Linked DNA regions of Homo sapiens: all the other regions are linked to region 2. Evidence: promoter capture Hi-C in 16 types of primary human blood cells and fetal thymus (Javierre and others, 2016). All regions are on one chromosome and are shown on one strand. The core of a region is centred on a gene start or on the middle of the fragment in contact, and the rest is flanking DNA. Distances in the headings are between cores, read along the strand shown. Region 1 overlaps ZBED6 (zinc finger BED-type containing 6). Region 2 holds the start of ERLNC1 (estrogen receptor responsive lncRNA 1). Region 3 holds the start of ZBED6 (zinc finger BED-type containing 6). Region 4 overlaps ZBED6 (zinc finger BED-type containing 6). Region 5 holds the start of MDM4 (MDM4 regulator of p53). Region 6 has its middle 14 kb from the start of PPP1R15B. Region 7 has its middle 23 kb from the start of SNRPE.

Region 1 (2,700 bases), core at 34-2,533, 300 kb after region 2:
GGCCGCCCCGTCTGAGAAGTGAGGAGCCCCTCCGCCCGGCAGCCGCCCCGTCTGCGAAGTGAGGAGCCCCTCCGCCCGGCAGCCGCCCCGTCCGGGAGGGAGGTGGGGGGCGCCTCCACCCGGCCACTGCCCCGTCTGGGAGGTGGGGGGCGCCTCTGCCCGGCCGCCCTATCTGGGAAGTGAGGAGCCCCTCTGCCCAGCCACCACCCCGTCTGGGAGGTGTACCCAACAGCTCATTGAGAACGGGCCATGATGACAAAGGCGGTTTTGTCGAATAGAAAACGGGGAAATGTGGGGAAAAGAAAGAGAGATCAGATTGTTACTGTGTCTGTGTAGAAAGAAGTAGACATGGGAGACTCCATTTTGTTCTGTACTAAGAAAAATTCTTCTGCCTTGGGATGCTGTTAATCTATAACTTTACTCCCAACCCCGTGCTCTCTGAAACATGTGCTGTGTCCACACAGGGTTAAATTGATTAAGGGCGGTGCAAGATGTGCTTTGTTAAACAGATGCTTGAAGGCAGCATGCTCGTTAAGAGTCATCACCACTCCCTAATCTCAAGTACCCAGGGACACAAACACTGCAGAAGGCCGCAGGGTCCTCTGTCTAGGAAAACCACAGACCCTTGTTCACATGTTTATCTGCTGACCTTCCCTCCACTGTTGTCCTATGACCCTGCCAATCCCCCTCTCCGAGAAACACCCAAGAATGATCAATAAATACTAAAAAAAAAAATAAAAAAAAAAAAAAGATTCTTATGTTGCCCTAAATCAGGAGGTCAAAAGTGGTATGTGCTCTCTGTTATCTTTCTTCACTTGATACAATGCAAGTTGATTTTTCCATATCGTTGTTCAGCATTTGACTTTTCATGACAGCAATTATTTTAGCACATAACTATCATAATTTTATCTAAACCCTTTTTATTGTATATTTAAGTTGTTTCTAATTTCCTACTATTTAGCCGGGTGCGGTGGCTCGTGCCTGTAATCCCAGGATTTTGGGAGGCTGAGGCAGGTGGATCACCTAAGGTCAGGAGTTTGAGACCAGCCTGACCAACATGGTGAAACCCCGTCTCTACTAAAAATACAAATATTAGCAAGGCATGGTGGCGTACGCCTGTAATTCTAGCTACTCGGTAGGCTGAGGCAGGGGAATTGCTTGAACCCAGGAGGTGGAGGTTGCAGTGAGCTGAGACCTTGCCATTTAACTCCAGCCTGGGCAACAAGAGCAAAACTCTGTCTCAAAAATAAATAAAATAAATAAATAAATAAATAAATAAATAAATAATTTCCTACTATTAATGCTATGATGAACAATCATTTTACCATCTCTAAGCACAAAAAAGGAATTGATCCCAGTTGAGTCTGAGCTGACTTGATCAATTACTTAAAAAACAAACAGAACTACAAAAGAACAAAAATCAAAAGCCCTAGCAAGCAACAGGTAAATCTGAGAAAAAGCAAAGGCTCTTACAGCAAAGAAAAAAATAATCAGAATCTGGTCTTAGGATTTACTTACCTGTTGCATCCTCATTATCTGGATCAGCTGACATGCCTAATCGCTCCTTAAGAGACTTGGAAACTTGAGCTGTGAAAAGAAAGATTTTCAAAAATCAAAAGTTGAACAGAAACTTTTTACAGCTTAAATACAGGTTTGCTGGGCATGGTGGCATACACCTGTAATCCCAGAACTTTGGGAGGCCAAGGCAGGCTGATCACTTGAGGTCAGGACTTCAAGGCCAGCCTGGCCAACATGGTGAAACCCCATCTCTACTAAAATTGCAAAAATTAGCTGGGCGCAGTGGCTCACGCTTGTAATCCCAGCACTTTGGGAGGCTGAGGTGGGTGGATCACTTGAGGTCAGGAGTTCAAGACCAGCCTGGCCAACATGGTGAAACCCCATCTCTACTAAAAACACAAAAATTAGCCGGGTGTGGTGGCACATGCCTGTAATCTCAGATACTCTGGAGGCTGAGACAGGAGAATCGTTTGAACCCGGGAGGTGGAGGTTGGGGTGAGCTGAGATAGCGCTACTGCACTCCAGTCTGGGTGACAGAGTGAGACTCTGTCTCAAAAAACAAAAATACCAAAAGAAACAAAGAAAAACGTACTTTATATCTGAAAAGCAAAAACTACTGAATTAAAGGAAATAATTTTGTTATTGTAGAGCCTTCTAAAACCTTACTGTCATTGAAATAATTTTTCCTCCAAGTAAATTTAAAATATGCTCCTTAGTTATGAAAATCTTCAACATGGTCAATACACAAGGAGGAAAACAATGTGGCAAAGAAAGTAACTTTTGCTTGCTCTGAGAATGCAAGAAAACCTCCAAACAGGAACGTCTACTCATCAAAGTCCCTTGGGCAAGGGGAAAAATTAAAAGAAGTTTCTTATTTCAAAGAAAGTTAAAACCAAACACAATGAGAAGGAAAAAAACACCTATTCTTTAATAATTTAACGCCAGTGTTTCACTGCAAGTCATACAAGCAGAAAAAACATAAATCTAACCTTGGCTTTTTGCTCTCCTTCAACTATAAAGAATTCTAATTCCCTGAGGGGCGCAATAGTGCATTCCTGTACTTCCAGCTACTTGGGAGGCTGAAGAAGGATGGCTTGAGGCCAGAAATTTGAATCCAGCCTAGGCAACACTGTGAAACCTTGTCTTTAAACAAACAAAACAAAACAAAAATCTAACTCCCAG
Region 2 (2,700 bases), core at 65-2,564:
GATCGGTCTGTCCTGTGGGAAGGTGAGAGAGGGCCGGTCTCATCCTCATCCTTCTCTATGTGCTCTTGCTACCCTGGACAGAGAAACACAAACAGGTGACACAGGAATGGAGATAAAAGCCCAGCCTCCTCCCCTCTGCCCATTGGTGGTTCTAGGTTTTTTAAGGACTGTGATAAGTGTTTGGCCTTTTCAGTGTACACAGACCTGTGTGCCTCCTGGGGACCAAAGTTCAGAGCACACAAGCACAGTGGACCCTCATCAGACTTCCACATGGCCTCTGATAACTTGATTGATTGGCTGATTTCTTCATTCCTCAACATGTGTTTCTTTCAGCAGAAATGGCTGCTGAGTGCTTGGGATGGGGGTGGGGCAGCAGGAGAGGTTGACCCATGCATCTTTGTTCATGCCCCCAGGTTGCACTTGCATGATATGGCAGGGGTCTGGGACAAGGGAACACTTACTCATAACTCAAGGTAGAAGGGATGAGTCAATGGGGAGCCACAAAGCAAGCATGCTCTTCATTGAAGGCTTTAATGTTCCTTTGACAGTGTAGGAGTGAGCTAAAGAAGCTCTTAGTTTGCTTTCTCATGTGAGCCGATGGTCTGTTTGTGAGATGAGAGGTTAGACCAGACCGTCTCTCTGATCCCTTCTACCTGTGACATGGTCAGCTGCTGGGGTGAGAGGGGGGTGCATACCAGGACATACCTCTGCCTCCTCAAGAGAGCTCCATTGCTCCAGCTCCCTGCCAGGGCACTACTCTTCCTCCTGGGGAGGATCTTTGTGGGAGTCAGCTCGACTTAGGGAGCTGCACCGCCTCCTGGGGAGTTTTCCCAGCATCCTAAGATCAGGTCTGTTTTGCATCTCTCCCCACTGCTCCTGTTGCCCTTGTTCTTAGTCTGGAATCCCCAGGTCTGGACACTCGTTCTCACCTGCCTTGTCCTTTCCCTGTGTCTCCTTCCTTACCCTCCTGTTCCTTTCACAAAGTAGCAGGGATGCCCTCAGTCAGTGACTTTTATGCTCTGCCTCATGCTTTGACGCCCATGTCTTTATCAGCTTCCTAGCATAACCAGAGGAGTCAGAAGGACAGGACGCCTCAGTGCCATTTTACAGATGATAAAAGTGAGGGTCTAAGAGATTGGCCATTTTTCCAAGGCCCCCTGCAGTAAGACAGAGGGAGTGATGAGGCTCAGATTCAGGGCTCTTGAGGCCAAGCACCTGTCTATCAGCCCTCCTTTCACTGGCTACCTTTTTTGCCACTGCCCAGCCTTTCTGCAGATGTCCCTAAGGTAGAGGTGTTGGAACGGGAGCTGGCCTGGCTGAAGGAGCATCTGTCCCAGCTGGAGTCCCCTGTGGTGTTTTGTCACAATGACCTGCTCTGCAAGAATATCATCTATGACAGCATCAAAGGTATGGCTTCTCTGGCCCTGGGGCAGCAGCAGGGTTTTGGTTGGTTGGTTAGCTGGCTTCACGGAGCTGTTCTTCCGGCTGGCACTTGGACAAGCAAAAGTTAGACCTTGATTTAGGTCTTAAGTTAATTTGTAGGAGGGAAGGGGGAAAGGAAATAAAAAATTCCCACTTTGAAAAGTCTGTGCCAAGGGCCAGTCTCAGTGGCTCATGCCTATAATCCCAGCAGTTTGGGAGGCCAAGGCATGTGGATTGCTTAAGCCCAGGAATTCAAGACCAGCCCAGGCAATGTGGTGAGACCCTGTCTCTACAAAAAAAATACACAAAACTTTTCCTGGTATGGTGGTACATGCTATAGTCCTAGCTCCTCGGGAGGCTGAGGCAGGAGAATCACTTGAGCCTGGGAGGTGGAGGCTGCAGTGAGCCATGATGGAGCCACTACACTCCAGCCTGGGCAACAGAGCAAGACCCTATTTAAAAAAAAAAAAAAAGTCTGGCCAGGCGCGGTGGCTCATGCCTGTAATCCCAGCACTTTGGGAGGCTAAGGCGGGTGGATCATGAGGTCAGGAGTTCAAGACCAGCCTGGCCAACATGGCGAAACCCCATCTCTACTAAAAATACAAAAATTAGCTGGGCATGGTGGTGTGCGCCTGTAATCCTAGCTACTCAGGAGGCTGAGGCAGGAGAATCGCTTGAACCAGGGAGGCAGAGGTTGCAGTGAGCCGAGATCATGCCACTGTACTCCAGCCTGGGCGACAGAGCGAGACTCTGTCTCAAAAAAAAAAAAGACAAAAACAAACAAACAAAAATCTGTGCCAAGAAAGAGAGAGAACGAACACATCCTGGTGTTGCTGATGAGGGCATCACCCCAGGGCGTATTAATACTTAGCTTTATTCCTGATCCTTAGCCATGCTGAGGACAGCTGTCTTTAGATGAGGAGAGCCTGAAGATCCAGCTGTGTGAGAGGGACACTGGGAGCTGGGAAGGGCAGATGGATGGATGGATGGATGGATGGATGGATGGATGGATGGATGAATGGAAGTAGCTTGGAAGACTGCTGCAGTGATGGGATTGGGCAGGGTTGCTGCAGAGGCCGGCATCACTCAGTGGGTGCATCCCAGAGGTCTGTGGAAGCTTGACCAGGCTCTGTTGCCAGATCTCCTGGGCCAACTCTCATCGATTCTCCTCTACTTCATAGGTCACGTGCGGTTCATTGACTATGAATATGCTGGCTACAACTACCAAGCTTTTGACATTGGCAACCATTTCAATGAGTTTGCAGGTGAGAGGGGCAT
Region 3 (2,700 bases), core at 17-2,516, 350 kb after region 2:
CTAACTAAAAGTAATACAACCTTTTAAAATGTGAGTGGCTGGAAAAAAATGCTTTGAGAAAAAAATTTTAAAACAAGGTTAAATGCTGCATTTTCAAAGTACTGTTTGTATTAAGAGTTAATTCAAGTTTAGTTTTCAGATATTTTTAGACTTGAGAAGCTTTTACAGCCTGTAAGTAACTCACAAGTTGTACGCTATAGAGATAGCAAAAAGTGAAATATGAACTTTAAACCACTTCCATTTTTCGATTGATCCCTCCCCTTCCCCCAATACCTACATACATTTACCCTAAAAAGCATCGCTATCTCTAGTTCCACAGCCTCTTTCTCAAGGTCCAGAACCAAGGCCTGGAAGATGTCAACAATATAGGCCTTCCCCATAGGAATCCGCACCGATTATGGGAGTTTAGGGGTGTTCTTCATTACGGTTTCACCAGTCCTACAAGGAGAACGGAAGTGTCCCTGTTGCTCTTGACTCCGACGCTGAGGGCCAGGGGTGGGAGTGTAATGAGAGTGGGGAATGGGTGTAGGATACCGGAATAAGGTCGGTGGCTTTCTGTATGTGGAGTTTGAGACAAGCTCCAAAGTACCGGGACCCTGGAGAGGAATGAGAGTAGGTAAATTCAGCGCCCGGCACTCAGTCTGATTGATTTAGGCAGTGAGGGTCCGCTCAACTAGAGAAACTGTTGCCCCGAAGAAAGCAATCTAGTGTCAGTTCTCTCTTCGGGATTCGGGGGAACAGTCGGTTTTCGGGGCTGCTCCGGGCTCCTCGAGATTAGCGAACACCGGATGTGGGGGAGGGGAGGAAGGTTGGCTGGGAAAGGAGCAGGCGCCGTGGGGGTGGGGTGAACGGGGTGGGGGTGGGGAGGATGGGAAAAGTGAGCGGGAGCCTGGGGCTCCCAGCCAGCCCCGGCGAGGGCCGCGACCGGGAGGTGGGGGGGAGGGGTCGTTACGGCGAAGCTGAAGGATCCGCTCTGACTTCCCGGGATAGGCCGCGACCCAGGGGCGAGGGGAGGCCGCTGCCACTCCCCTCGCCCTCTCCCCCACCTCCCCGGCCCCAAGCCACCCGGGAATCAAAAAAACGGGTCTAGTTACCAGAGAACAGAAACTTTACCGAACCGATGACACTATCCCCGACTCCCGCTTGCTGCCACGTCTTTCTTCTTGCTTGGCCGCTGCCGTCCGTCGTCCTCCCAGCAGCAGCAGCACTAGCAGAAAACCAAGACTGCCAGCGTCAAAGATGGCGCCTGGCTACAGGCTCCGCTCTAAGGCCCGGCCGGTAAAAGTGCCAGCACGACGCAGGGCGCGAGGATTCTGGAAGATGTAGTTCCTCTATGAGGCGATGCCTAAGATGGCTGCTCCGGGTCACAGGGTCACGTGACGGGGGAGGCGCTGGGTCGGGGAGTCCCTTCCCTTCAGAGGAATGCCTCGAAGCCGGCTTTCATAACGTTTTGTTTTTGTTTTTAAATCAAATGAGGTAATAAGCGGGAGGGCCGCAGGAACTGAGACTGCCATTCAGTAAGCGCTCAATTTATTCTTACCAAAGTGTTTGCTTAATGAGTAAATCTCCCAAACCATGTATACATTTAATTTAGAAATAAACTGTACTTTTCCTAAGCATGCAATGTAGAATGATTTGTTAGTTTATTTTTTACTTGAAGAAGTGAGATTGGGCTTTGGGGGGGTGTTTCTTTGATTTCTTAAAGCAAATTTGTGTATTGGAAAAGTAATTCATGCTCGTGACAAAATTCAGGAGAGTTAGTTGGAGGTCGCAATCAGCAGTCTCATCCCTGCTTCATTATTAACATTGTCCCTTATTTTCCCTTTTGAATGTTTTTACTTTTTCCCCCGGTTATAAAAGTAATACACGTGGCCGGTGCGGTGGCTCACGACTGTAATTCCAGCACTTTGGGAGGCCTCGGCAGGCGGATCACAAGGTCAAGAGATCGAGACCATCCTGGTCAACATGGTGAAACCTCATCTTTACCAAAAATACAAAAATTAGCTAGGCGTGGTGGCACGCGCCTGTAGTCCCAACTACTCGAGAGGCTGAGGCAGGAGAATCGCTTGAATCTGGGAGGCAGAGGTTGCATTGAGCTGACATCGCACCACTGCACTCCAACCTGGCGACAGAGTAAGACTCCATCTCAAAAAAAAAAAAAAAAAAAAAAAGTAAAAAACTTAATACACGTAAGTTTTTTTAGAAACAATACAGAAATATAGAGAGTAGAAAGTTAAAATCTCTATTAATCTCATTCTTGAGAAATAGCTCTCATTAACTTACCATATATCCTTTCTGGCTTTTACACTGAAAATATACTTAAATATATTACACATATAATAGGAGCCCAAGGTCCCCCTGGGGTAGTGGCTCAGCAGAACTCTAATTAGGTGGCAACATTTTACCTAACTTGGGTAAAGGATATAGTTGTGCTACTAAGAAAGGAAACACTTGATGATAAAGCAGATGGGACTTCAGGCACCTTTTATTTCCTCGTGTGCTTGTTCTTCCAGCTGCCGGGTTGGTGATGTGCGAGTCCCAGGCAGCCCAAGACTAGGAATTTATCAGAGCAGAGGGGTCCTGAGCCTCCTCATATCTGGGCTTTTATCTCCTTTCAAAGTAAGAACCACAACTTTAGAATCTTAGCTCCAATCTCTGCCTTACGTGACAGTGCTCTGGCATTGCCATGTCAACAGACCT
Region 4 (2,700 bases), core at 162-2,661, 330 kb after region 2:
CCCTGATCTCCACACTAAAACGTCCAAGCAAGCTTCTACAAAAGCATATAACAAAAGCACATACGAGAATATGGAAAGGGTTTCCACAAACGTACATACCAGAAGATCAGGTTTCAGAAATAGTGATCTACAACTTGAAATCAATTAAATCAAATTCAGTCATATCTCCCACTAATAATTCCTAATGCAAGAATGGTATGCCATGATGAAAAGTCACCTTGATGTTAACAACCTGGATTAAGAGTCTGACACTGAACATGGGTACTAAACATGTACCCAAATGTTTAAAGTTTACATACCCTTCGACAATTCCATTTCTAGAATGTATTATAATATGTAAAAGTATTAAAGGTAACAATGCACAATAAATGTTATCACAATCTTGTTTTAATAATGAAATAGGCCGGGTGCAGTGGCTCATACCTATAATCCCAGCACTCTGGGAGGCCAAGGTGGGCAGATCGCTTGAGTCCAGGAGTTCGAGACCAGCCTGGACAACATGGCAAAACCCCATCTCTTAAAAAAAAAAAAAAAAAAAAAGCTGGGTGTGGTGGCACACTCCTGTGATCCCAGCTACACGGGGGAGCTGAGGCACAAGAATCACTTGAACCCAGGAGGCAGAGGTTGCAGTGAGCTGACATTGCGCCACTGCACTCCAGCTTGGGCAACAGAGCGAGACACTGTCTCAAAAAAAAAAAAAAAAGAAAAGAAAAGGAAGAAAATAATGAAATAACATCTAGAAACCTAACTGTTCAAAAACTGGAGACTATTTTTAAAAATTATGATATATGGCCAGGCACGGTGGCTCATGCCTGTAATCCCAGCACTTTGGGAGGTGGAAGCTGGTGGATCACTTGAGGTCAGGAGTTTGAGAACAGCCTGGACAACATGGCGAAACCCCATCTCTACTAAAAATACAAAAATTACCCAGGTGTGGTGGCACACACCTGTAGTCCCAGCTACTCAGGAGCCTAAGGTAGGGAAACTTCTTGAACCCGGGAGGTGGAGGTTGCAGTGAGCCGAGATCATGCACTGCACTCCATCCTGGACAACAGAGTGAGACTCTATCTCAAAAATAAACAAATGATTTAAAAAAATTACGGTATATTCATGTAATGTGACAATATACAGCCATTAGAGTTTCATACCAGAAAGTGAATGCTGCTGTAAAAAACCAAAAACAAAAAAATCTAAAAATATGTAAGCAGCTTTGTTATTGGGTCATAGGTGGAGGCTGGAAGACTTTTGAGGTACTTGATAGAAAAGGCCTAGAAGAAACTGCTGCTAAAGCATATGAACGTTAAAGGTACTTAAGGTACTTATGGTGAGGTTTCAGTCAGAAATTAGGATCGTGTTATTGGAAACTGGAGGAAAGGTTATTCTTTTTTTTTTCTTTGAGATGGAGTCTTGCTCTGTCACCCAGGCTGGAATGCAATGGTGCCATCTTGGCTCACTGCAACCTCTGCCTCCCAGGTTCAAGCAATTCTCCCGCCTCAGTCTCCCAAGTAGCTGGAATTACAGGCTTGCACCACCACATATGGCTAATTTTTGTATTTTTAGTAGAGACAGGGTTTCGCCATGTTGGCCAGGCTGGTCTTGAACTTCTGACCTCAGATGATCCTCCCACCTCAGCCTCCCAAAGTGCTGGGATTACAGGTGTGAGCCAGCGCCTGGCCGGAAAGGTTATTCCTGTTAAAAAGTGGCAGAGAACTTAGAATTGGGTTGTGTTGGGCAGAAGGCAGAACCTGGAAGCAATGAACTTGGGTTTTAGCTGAGGAGATTTCTAAGCAAAGTGTGGAAGGAACAGCCTGGGCTTTTCCTGCTGCTTACAGTGAAATGCAAGGAGAGAGACATATTGAGGCAAGAACTATGAAGCAAAAAGGAATAAAGAATCTGAACTTGAAAATTTAGAAAATTCTCACTCTATCCATATTGCAAAAAAAAAAAACAAGAATGTATGCTCTGTAGAGAAAAGGGTATGGGTGGGCAACAGTTTGTTGGAGATTAGGTGTGTGACTAGATTCAGGCAACCATCTTAGCAAAAAATGTTGCCAGCTTAAAATGAAAGAGACAGACATGTACAGAGGGAATGTGATGAGAAGACACACAAGGAGAAGATGACCATGTGGCTGGAGTGATGCATCTACAAACCAAGGAATGCCAAGGATTGCCAACAAACACCAGAAGCCAGAATGGGTAAGGATCATTCCTCTACAGGCTTCAGAGGGAGAATGGCCCTGCTGAAAACATTTTAGACATCTCACCTTCAGAATTGTGAGACAACAAACTTCTGTAGCTACCCAGTTTGTGATACTTTGTTATGGAAGTCCTAGGAACTAATACAGATAACAAGCATAGTCAAATGACCTTTGACAAAGGGGAAAAGGATAGTCTTTTCAACATATGTTACTGGAACAAATGGATATCCACATATAAAAAAATAATTTTAGACACAGACTTTATACTTTTCACAAAAAATAACATGGATAACAACTTAAATACAAAAGAAAACCAATAAATTGGTTTTCAATAAAAACCATTAAAATTTAGCCAGGCATGGTGGTGAATGCCTGTGATCCCAGCTACTGAGGAGGCTGAGGCAAGAGAATTGCTTGAACCTGGGAGGCGGAGGTTGCAGTGAGCTGAGATCACACCACTGCACTCCAGCCTAGGCAACAAGAGCAAAACTCCATCCAAAAA
Region 5 (2,700 bases), core at 114-2,613, 370 kb before region 2:
GTTCCACGTGCCAACAGCACAGAGCTGCAGCATTTTCTCCGGGTGTTGCTTTTAAACTGTGGTTTTCGGCCGGGCACGGTGGCTCACGCCTGTAATCCCAACACTTTCGGAGGCCGAGGTGGGCGGATCACCTGAGGTCTGGAGTTCGAGAACAGCCTGGCCAACCTGGTGAAACCTCATCTCTAATAAAACACAAAATTAGCCAGGCGTGGTGGCGCACACCTGTAATCCCAGCGACCCGGGAGGCTGAGGCAGAAGAATCACTTGAACCCGTGAGGCAGAAGTTGCAGTGAGCCAAGATCGCGCCACTGCACGCCAGCCTGGGCAAAAAGAGCGAAACTCCACTCAAAAAAAACAAAAACAAAACAAAAACACAACCAAAAAAACCTGTGGTTTTCAAGCTTTAAGGTATACAAAAATCACTGGGAGGTGTGCTCATTAAAATATATTTCTCTGAGCCCCATCTCGATACTGTCTGTAGGTTTCAGTGTGGCCCCAAAACGAACATTTTTTCTTTTTTTTTTTTTGAGACGGAATCTCCCTCTGTAGCCCAAGCTGGAGTGCAGTGGCGCGATCTCGACTCACTGCAACCCCCGCCCACGGATTCAAGTGATTCTCCTGCCTCAGCCTCCCGAGTAGCTAGGATTACAGGCATGCGCCACCACACACATCTAATATTTTTGTATTTTTACTAGAGACGGGGTTTCACCAGGTTGGCCAGGTTGGTCTCGAACTCCTGTCCTCAGGTAGATCCACCCACCTCGGCCTCCTGAAGTGCTGGGATTACAGGCGTGAGCCACCGCGCCAAGCCAAAACAAGCATTTTCAAACAAGCACTCAAGTGCCTCTAAGGTAGACTGTCCGCAGACCTAAAAACTAACTTAAAAACTTAAGACACGTCAATGTCATTCTACCCGGTTCCCTCTCTCCCACCTCCTTTCTCCAAATTGCCTCAACAGTCCTCAAATGTTGTGTCCAGTTAAACTCAATCCAACTACGTCGACTTTAGGTTTGTCACCTGTTGGCCAAAGTTACTTCACGTCACCCCACCTCCACTTTTATCTTCCGCGAGCCCTCATCCCACAACTCTTCCCCTCCCCCCGAGCCCTTCTTCCGCCTGGCGCGGCCTTCCCCACGCCGCCCGACCCACCTCTCAAGCTCCTCCCGCCCGCTACCCGCACAACTGGCGGTACGGCCGCCTGCTCCTCACTCTCCAGCTCCCGCTCCCGGCACCCCGCCGACGAAGGCCAAGAGCCACACCTTACGGCAGCTCCATGAGTCGCTCCCCCGCCGAGCCCGGGTGGGGGGAGGGGTGGCAGTCACAGATCCTAGGGCCTCGGCAGCATTTTGAAATGGCGAGTAATGAAGCCGCAACTTCCGGCCTCCCACACGGCCTCACACGAGGGCTTCCGGTGAGGCCTCCGGAAACCATAGATGGAGCAATGGGAGGACTAGAGAGCTAGAAAGGCTGAGCTCACTACCATAGAGTAGATCCTAGTCCGGGGAGAGAGTCGTGGGGCCCGAACGGTTGAAAGTCGTCAGATTTGAAGAGATAATAAGTGAGGGACTTGCAGGGTCTTGTGATATTTACAGACGTGTATTAGGAGATCAGAAAACAGAGAAGAGGAAGAGCTAAGGTCATAATCACAGGCTGCCTTCAGCTCTTCGGAAAAACTACGCTTCCTCTGCCATTCCCCAGTCCTCACCCTTACTCCCCAAGGGTGGTAGGGAAGGGAAACGGAGCGATGGCGGCACTAGGGTGGCAAGGAAGCTTGAAGCCATGTCAAATAAATAGTTGAAAGCACCAGCCGCTGTGGCTCACGCCTGTAATCCCAGCACTTTGGGAGGCCTAAGGCAGGCGGATCACCTGAGGTCAGGAGTTCGAGACCAGTCTGACCAATATGGTGAAACCCTGTTTCTACTAAAAATACAAAATTAGTCGGGTGTGGTGGCGCATGCCTGTAATCCCAGCTACTCAGGAGAATCGTTTGAACTTGGGAGGCGGAGGTTGCAGTGAGCCGAGATAGCGCCATTCCAGCCTGGGCAACAAGAGCGAAACTCCTCAAAAAAAAAAAAAAAAAAGAAAAAGAAATAGTTGAAGGCTCAAGGGAGTTTTTAACCTGCATATAAACGAGGGAGGCCGGGCGCAGTGGCTCTCCCCTGTAATCCCAGCGCACTTTGGGAGGCCGAGGCGGGCGGATCACCTGAGGTCAGCAGTTCGAGACCATCCTGCCCAACATGGCGAAACCCCCGTTTCTACTAAAAATACAAAAAATTAGCGGGGCATGGTGGCGGTCACCTGTAATCCCAGCTACTTAGGAGGCCGAGGCAGGAGAATCGTTTGAACCCGGGTGGCGGAGGTTGCAGTGAGCCGAGATAGCGCCATTGCACTCCAGCCTGGGCGACAAGAGCGAAACTGCATCTCAAAAAAAAAAAAAAAAAAAAAGAGGGAAAGGGTTGAGCATAGAAATTGGAAGCTGTCTTCAAATAACTGAATAGTATAATATTGGAAATAACGGAGCCTTATTCTCTTCTCCAAAGTGCAGAACTAAAACCAATAGAAATTACAAGGCAGTATTTTTAAGCTCAGAAAATCCTCTAACATTTAGAGTTGTTCTGAAATAAATGAAATTAGGTATTTGGGGGAAGTAATGTCATTTGAAGACAGCCTGCCTGAGAGGTTTGTTGAAAGCTCTTCTAT
Region 6 (2,700 bases), core at 74-2,573, 260 kb before region 2:
TGTCTCCACCAGATGGCGTTATCTTCCATCTGGGAGTGCCTGATGGACACCTGTTATTACAGATCTGGTTGCTATTGCTCCCCTGGAGGTGGGTCCCTCAATGTGTAAACAAGCTGGAAAACTGCCCTGCCCTGCCCATTCCAGGCCTGCCTGGCCCAGTGTGACTCCACCTTTTTGTGGTAATTACCCAGAAGTAGGGGCTCTTTCTTATAGGAGAACCAAGATTTGTATTTGAACACAAACAAAGGAACTGATTTTTTTTTTGAGTCTTGCTGTCGCCCAGGCCTAGGCTGGAGTACAGTGGCACGGTCATAGCTCACTGCAGCCTCCAACTTTTGGGCTTAAACAATCCTCCCACCTCAGCCTCCCAAGTAGCTAGGACCACAGGCATGCACCACATTGCCTGGCTAATTTTATTATTTTTGTGTGTAGAGATGGGGTCTAATTATATTGCCTAGGCTGGTCTCAAACTCCTGGCTTCAAGAGATCCTACTGCCTGGGGCTCCCAAAGTGTCGCGATTACAGGCATGAGCCACCTCACTTGGCCCTTGTATACTTTTTTATCACTGTTCAAGTCACATTGAATTTTAATTGTGATTTGCTCTTTCCTTTCTTCCTCTGTGGTGGAAGGGTCTGCGCAGTGACCAGAGTATTTTAGACACATGATACACTTTTCTTTAACTCAAGTGGTAATTTCCATAGCCTCTTTTTTCCAACACACAGGCTCCCTCCCGACATAACAAGTAATTTATGAATTCATTTCAAAGAAGCAATTTTGTATGTGAAAAGGTCTATCTTCAATGTTTACATTATTTTGTATTTGTAGTATTTGATTTTTTTTTTTTTGAAAAGCTAGCATTATTAGTGATGACCTGAAACCCAAAGTTTTAAATCAGTTGATGTAAGGTCGTCATGACTACTCTTTCCAGTGGTAGCCTAAGGTTCGCTGAAACATTGTCATCGTTATGAAAGGCACTTCATTATGCAGGATACCATTCATATCCAGTTTTCTAAGATGGTTGAGGACATTGTTTTTTAAACTTTTCTGTTTTTTAAATTGACAAAAATTGTATATGTTTACTGTCTACAACATGATGTTTTGAAATATGTGTACATTGTGGAATGGTAAGTCAAGCTAATTAACATGTATTACCTCACATACTTAGCATTTTTTTTGTGGTAAGAACCCTTAAAATCTACTCTTAGCAATTTCCTTTTTCTATTTATTTATTTATTTGAGACAAGCTGGAGTGCAGTGGTGCAATTTCGCCTCACTGTAACCTCCGCGTCCTGGGCTCAAGCAATTCTCATGTCTCAGCCTCCCAAGTAGCTGGGACTACAGGCGCGTGCCACCACACCCGGCTAATTTTTTGTATTTTAGTAGAGACAGGTTTCACCCCATGTTGCCCAGGGTGGTCTCGTACTCCTGAGCTCAGGTGATCTGCCTGCCTTGGCCTTCCAAAGTGCTGGGATTACAGGCGTGAGCCATCACGCCTGGGCTTTTTATTTATTTATTTTATTTTATTTTATTATTTATTTATGTATTTATTTATTTTGAGACAGAACCTTGCTCTGTTGCCAAGCTGGAGTGCAGTGGCATGATCATGGCTTTCTTCAGCCTCAACCTCCTGGGCTCAGGCAATCCTCTTGCCTCAGTTTCCCGAGTAGCTGGGACCACAGGCTCACACCACCACAACAGGCTAATTTTTAAGTTATCTGTAGGGGCGAGATCTCCCTATATTGCCCAGGCTGGTCTTGAAGTCCTAGGCTTAAGTGTTCCTCCTGCCTCCCAAAGTGTTGAGATTACAGGTGTGAGCCACCTCACCTGGCCAATTTGCAAGAATATAATACATTGTTATTGACTATGGTCACCATGTCGTACAGTAGATCTCTTGAACTTATTCCTCCTCACTGAAAGTTTGTATCCTTTGAGCAACGTCTCCCCAACCCACTTCTTGTTTTTTATTAACTTATTAAAGTATAATTTACAATAAGTTTCACTCATTTTAAGTATGAATTCAATGAGTTTTGATAAACACGTGTAGTCATATAAACACCACCACTATCAAAATATGGATCATTTCCATCACCCAGAAAGTTCCCTTATGTTCTTTTGTATTCGGTCCCCTTCCCAACCTCCAGCTTTTGGCAGCCATTGCTTTTCTTTTCTTTGTCTTTTTTTTTTTTTTTGACAGACAGGGTCTTACTGTCACCCAGGCTGGAGTGTAGTGGTGTGATCACGGCTCACTGCAGCCTTATCTCCCTGGGTTCAGGTGATCCTCCCACCTCAGCCTCCTGAGTAGCTGGGACTACAGCTGTGTGCGACCACACCCAGCTGGTTTTTTGTTTTTTTTTTTTTGTTTTTGTTTTTGCTTTTTTTTTTTTTTTTGTATTTTTAGTAGAGATAAGGTTTTGGCATGTTGCCCAGGCTAGTCTTGAACTTCTGGGCTCAAGAGATCTGCCTGTTTTGGCCTCCCAACATGCTGGGATTGCAGGTGTGAGCCACCACGTCTGGCCTTTGATCTGCTTTCAACACTTTTAGCTCTTCTAGAATTTCAGAAAAATGGTATCGGATGTACAGCATGGACCCTTCTGTGGTGGGCTTCTTTACTGTAATGCTTTTGAGATTCATCTGTGCTGTTGAGTGTCTCTGCAGTCCATTCCTTCTGTTGAGTGTATCAGTAGTCCATTCCTTTTCAT
Region 7 (2,700 bases), core at 117-2,616, 260 kb after region 2:
TAGTAAGTCAAGGAGTGTACTAAATGTATATTATTTTCTCACCATCCGAAAGTTGAAAAATTGTAAGTTAGAGATCATCTGTACATAGAAACAGAGGAGAACAGCAGTTACCAGGGGCAGGGAAGGGGAGAAATGGGGAATGGTAGATTAAAGGGCAAAAACTGGCAGTTGTGTACGATGAGCAGGCCTAGAGACCTAATGGGCAGCATGAGGAAAACGGTTAATAATACTGTATTACATATGAAAAATTTGCTAAGACCGTAGATTTTAAGTGCTCTTACCAGACAAAAAAACAGGTAACTATGGAAGGTGACAGGTTAATTTGCCTGACTGTAGTAATTATTTCAGTGTTGTATACCTTATAGACAACTTAAAAAAGAAAATCCCAAGCAATCTACAAAAAAACACCTACTACAACAAAGAACTGAGTTTAGTAAGGTCATAGGATACAAGGTCAATAAAAACAATTGGAAGTCAAAATTATAAAAACAGTACCATTTACAGTGGCATCAAAAATATAAAACAGCCAGGTACAGTGGCTCATGCCTGCAATCCCAACAGTTTGGGAGGCCAAGGCAGGGCAATCACTTGAGCCCAGAAGTTTGAGACCAGCCTGGGCAACATGGTGAAATCCTTCCTCTACTAAAAATACAAAAAATTAGCTGGGCATGGTGGCATGCAGCTGTAGTCCCAGCTACTTGGGAGGCTGAGGTGGGAGAATCACCTGAGCCTGAGAAGTCAAGGCTGCAGTGCGCCATGACCCCACCTCTGCACTCCAGCCTGGTCAACAAGAGTGACACTGTCTCAAAAAAAGAAAAAAAGAGAAATACTCGTGAAGGGATAAACCTAACAAAATGTGGTAAAGCTGAAAACTACAAAATACTGATGAGAGAAACAGAAGAAAAATCCAAATAAATGGGGAGATATACCATATTCACCACTGGAAGACAATATTGTTTTTCATTTGTTTGCTTTGAGACAGATTTTCGCTCTTGTTGCCCAGGCTGGAGTGCAGTAGCTCGATTTCGGCTCACTGCAACCTCCACTTCCCAGGTTCAAGCAATTCTCCTGTCTCAGCCTCCCGAGTAGCTGGGATTACAGGCACACACCACCACCACCACGCCTGACTAATTTTTTTGTATTTTTAGTAGAGATGGGGTTTCACCATGTTGGCCAGGCTGGTCTTGAACTCCTGACCTCAGGTGATCCACCCGCCTCGGCCTCCCAAAGTGCTGGGATTACAGGCATGAGCCACTGCACCCAGCCAACAATATTGTTAGGATGACAATTTACCCCAAAATGCTTAATAGAGTTAATCAATCTCAACCAAAATCCCAGGTTGTTGTTTTTTTTAAAGAAATCAATAAACTGATTCTAAAATCTAAATGGAAAGGTAAAGACCCTAGAATAGCCAAAATACTTTGAAAAGGAAGAACACAATTGGAGGATTCAAATTACCCGAGGCCAAAGTTTACTACAAAGCTAAAGTAATCAAGACAATGTGGTATCATTAAAACAACAGACCTATAGGTCAACGAAACAATAAGAGAATTCAGAAAAATACCCACATATATGGTCAATTGGTTTTGAAAAAAGGTACTAAGGCAATTCATTGAAAACCAATAGCCTTAAACAAATGGTTCTTGAATAACTGATCATCCATATGAAAAAAAATGAACCATAATCCATAACTCACACCATTATTTTAAAAATTAACCCAAAATATATCATAAATGTAAAAATATAAGAATTTTAAAAGAGGCCAGGTGTGGTGGCTCACGCCTGTAATCTTAGCATTTTGGGAGGCCAATGCGGGCGGATTGCCTGAGCTTAGGAGTTTGAGAGTAGCCTGGGCAACATGGTAAAACTCCGTCTCTACTAAAATATAAAAAGTTAGCCAGGTGTGGCAGCGTGTACCTGTAGTCCCAGCTACTCGGGAGGCTGAGGCAGGAGAATTGCTTGAACCAGGGAGGTGGAAGTTGCAGTGAGCTGAAATTGTGCCACTGCACTCCAGCCTGGGCGACAGACCAAGACTCTGTCTCCAAAAATAAATAAATAAATAAATAAATAAATAAATAAATAAATACAAACATAAAACTTGTGTTCTTTTTTTTTTGAGACAGGTTCTCACTCTGTTTCTAAGGCTGGAGTGCAGTGGCATGATCTCAGCTCACTGTAGCCTCGACTTTCCAGGTTCAAATGATCTCCCACCTCAGCCCCCCAGACTTCAGTCCCCCAGGTAGCTGGGACTACAGGTGTGCACCACCATGCCCAGCCAGCTAAATTTTGTAGAGATGGGGTTTCACCATGTTGTCCAGGCTAAAACTTGTGTTCTTTAAAGATATTATAGAGAAATGAAGACAAGCCACAGACCAGCAGAAAATATTTGCAAAACACTTGATAAGGAACTTTTCATCCAGAAGAACCCTCCCAACACACACATAAAAAAGGAAATCAAACAACCCAATTTTTAAAAATCAGCAAAAAGTCTTAAGAGATACTTCACCAAAGAAATATGTGATATCAAATAAGCACATGAAAAGACACACAAAATCATTTGTCACAGGAAAATGACAATTAAAACAATGAGATACTGCTATTCATCTATTAGCATGGAGAAAAAAACAAAAACAAAAAATAAATCTGACAATACCAAGTGTTGGTGAGGATACAGAGCAACTAGAACTTTTTTTTTTTTTT

Evidence for each region. The method cuts DNA at HindIII sites, captures the fragments that hold promoters and counts their contacts. A CHiCAGO score of 5 or more calls a contact.
Region 1: a contact is called between a fragment that was not itself captured here and the fragment with the promoter of ERLNC1 in region 2, in 2 of 17 cell types (M2 macrophages and neutrophils). The highest score is 9.0, in M2 macrophages.
Region 3: a contact is called between the fragment with the promoter of ZBED6 here and the fragment with the promoter of ERLNC1 in region 2, in 6 of 17 cell types (M0 macrophages, M2 macrophages, fetal thymus and 3 more). The highest score is 8.1, in M0 macrophages.
Region 4: a contact is called between a fragment that was not itself captured here and the fragment with the promoter of ERLNC1 in region 2, in 1 of 17 cell types (M2 macrophages). The highest score is 5.7, in M2 macrophages.
Region 5: a contact is called between the fragment with the promoter of MDM4 here and the fragment with the promoter of ERLNC1 in region 2, in 1 of 17 cell types (M2 macrophages). The highest score is 6.1, in M2 macrophages.
Region 6: a fragment that was not itself captured here is called in contact with the fragment with the promoter of ERLNC1 in region 2 in 1 of 17 cell types (M2 macrophages); the score reaches 5.6 in M2 macrophages.
Region 7: a contact is called between a fragment that was not itself captured here and the fragment with the promoter of ERLNC1 in region 2, in 5 of 17 cell types (M2 macrophages, endothelial precursors, M1 macrophages and 2 more). The highest score is 7.1, in M2 macrophages.

Annotation. Positions count from the first base shown.
Region 1 is chr1:203,839,193-203,841,892 of GRCh38, reverse strand. ZBED6 (zinc finger BED-type containing 6) reads right to left here. Exons shown (of 17, transcript NM_001395895.1): 11 at 1,519-1,587. It overlaps ZC3H11A (zinc finger CCCH-type containing 11A), which reads right to left. Exons shown (of 18, transcript NM_001376342.1): 12 at 1,519-1,587. Among named protein-coding and RNA genes, the nearest start is that of SNRPE, 21 kb to the left of the region's middle. RefSeq lists an enhancer at 1-351 and a silencer at 366-566. The HindIII fragment of the contact is 8,507 bases long and covers 1-2,700 here.
Region 2 is chr1:204,140,022-204,142,721 of GRCh38, reverse strand. ERLNC1 (estrogen receptor responsive lncRNA 1) reads right to left here and starts at 1,314. Exons shown (of 3, transcript NR_123739.1): 1 at 1,246-1,314; 2 at 462-1,157; 3 at 1-73. It overlaps ETNK2 (ethanolamine kinase 2), which reads left to right. Exons shown (of 8, transcript NM_018208.4): 4 at 1,265-1,407; 5 at 2,604-2,687. The HindIII fragment of the contact is 8,592 bases long and covers 1-2,541 here.
Region 3 is chr1:203,794,189-203,796,888 of GRCh38, reverse strand. ZBED6 (zinc finger BED-type containing 6) reads right to left here and starts at 1,266. Exons shown (of 17, transcript NM_001395895.1): 1 at 1-1,266. ZC3H11A (zinc finger CCCH-type containing 11A) reads right to left here and starts at 1,266. Exons shown (of 18, transcript NM_001376342.1): 1 at 1,095-1,266. RefSeq lists an enhancer at 1,146-1,565. The HindIII fragment of the contact is 5,182 bases long and covers 162-2,700 here.
Region 4 is chr1:203,813,220-203,815,919 of GRCh38, reverse strand. All of the region lies in intron 1 of ZBED6 (zinc finger BED-type containing 6), which reads right to left. The region is part of intron 2 of ZC3H11A (zinc finger CCCH-type containing 11A); the gene reads right to left. Among named protein-coding and RNA genes, the nearest start is that of ZC3H11A, 19 kb to the right of the region's middle. The HindIII fragment of the contact is 2,754 bases long and covers 35-2,700 here.
Region 5 is chr1:204,515,069-204,517,768 of GRCh38, reverse strand. MDM4 (MDM4 regulator of p53) reads right to left here and starts at 1,363. Exons shown (of 11, transcript NM_002393.5): 1 at 1,260-1,363. RefSeq lists enhancers at 1,091-1,370, 1,401-1,480, 1,491-1,620, 1,059-1,969, 910-2,109 and 1 more. The HindIII fragment of the contact is 1,369 bases long and covers 404-1,772 here.
Region 6 is chr1:204,396,043-204,398,742 of GRCh38, reverse strand. It overlaps a transcript of PPP1R15B not described here. Among named protein-coding and RNA genes, the nearest start is that of PPP1R15B, 14 kb to the left of the region's middle. The HindIII fragment of the contact is 3,146 bases long and covers 1-2,700 here.
Region 7 is chr1:203,882,916-203,885,615 of GRCh38, reverse strand. No RefSeq gene overlaps it. Among named protein-coding and RNA genes, the nearest start is that of SNRPE, 23 kb to the right of the region's middle. The HindIII fragment of the contact is 5,731 bases long and covers 1-2,700 here.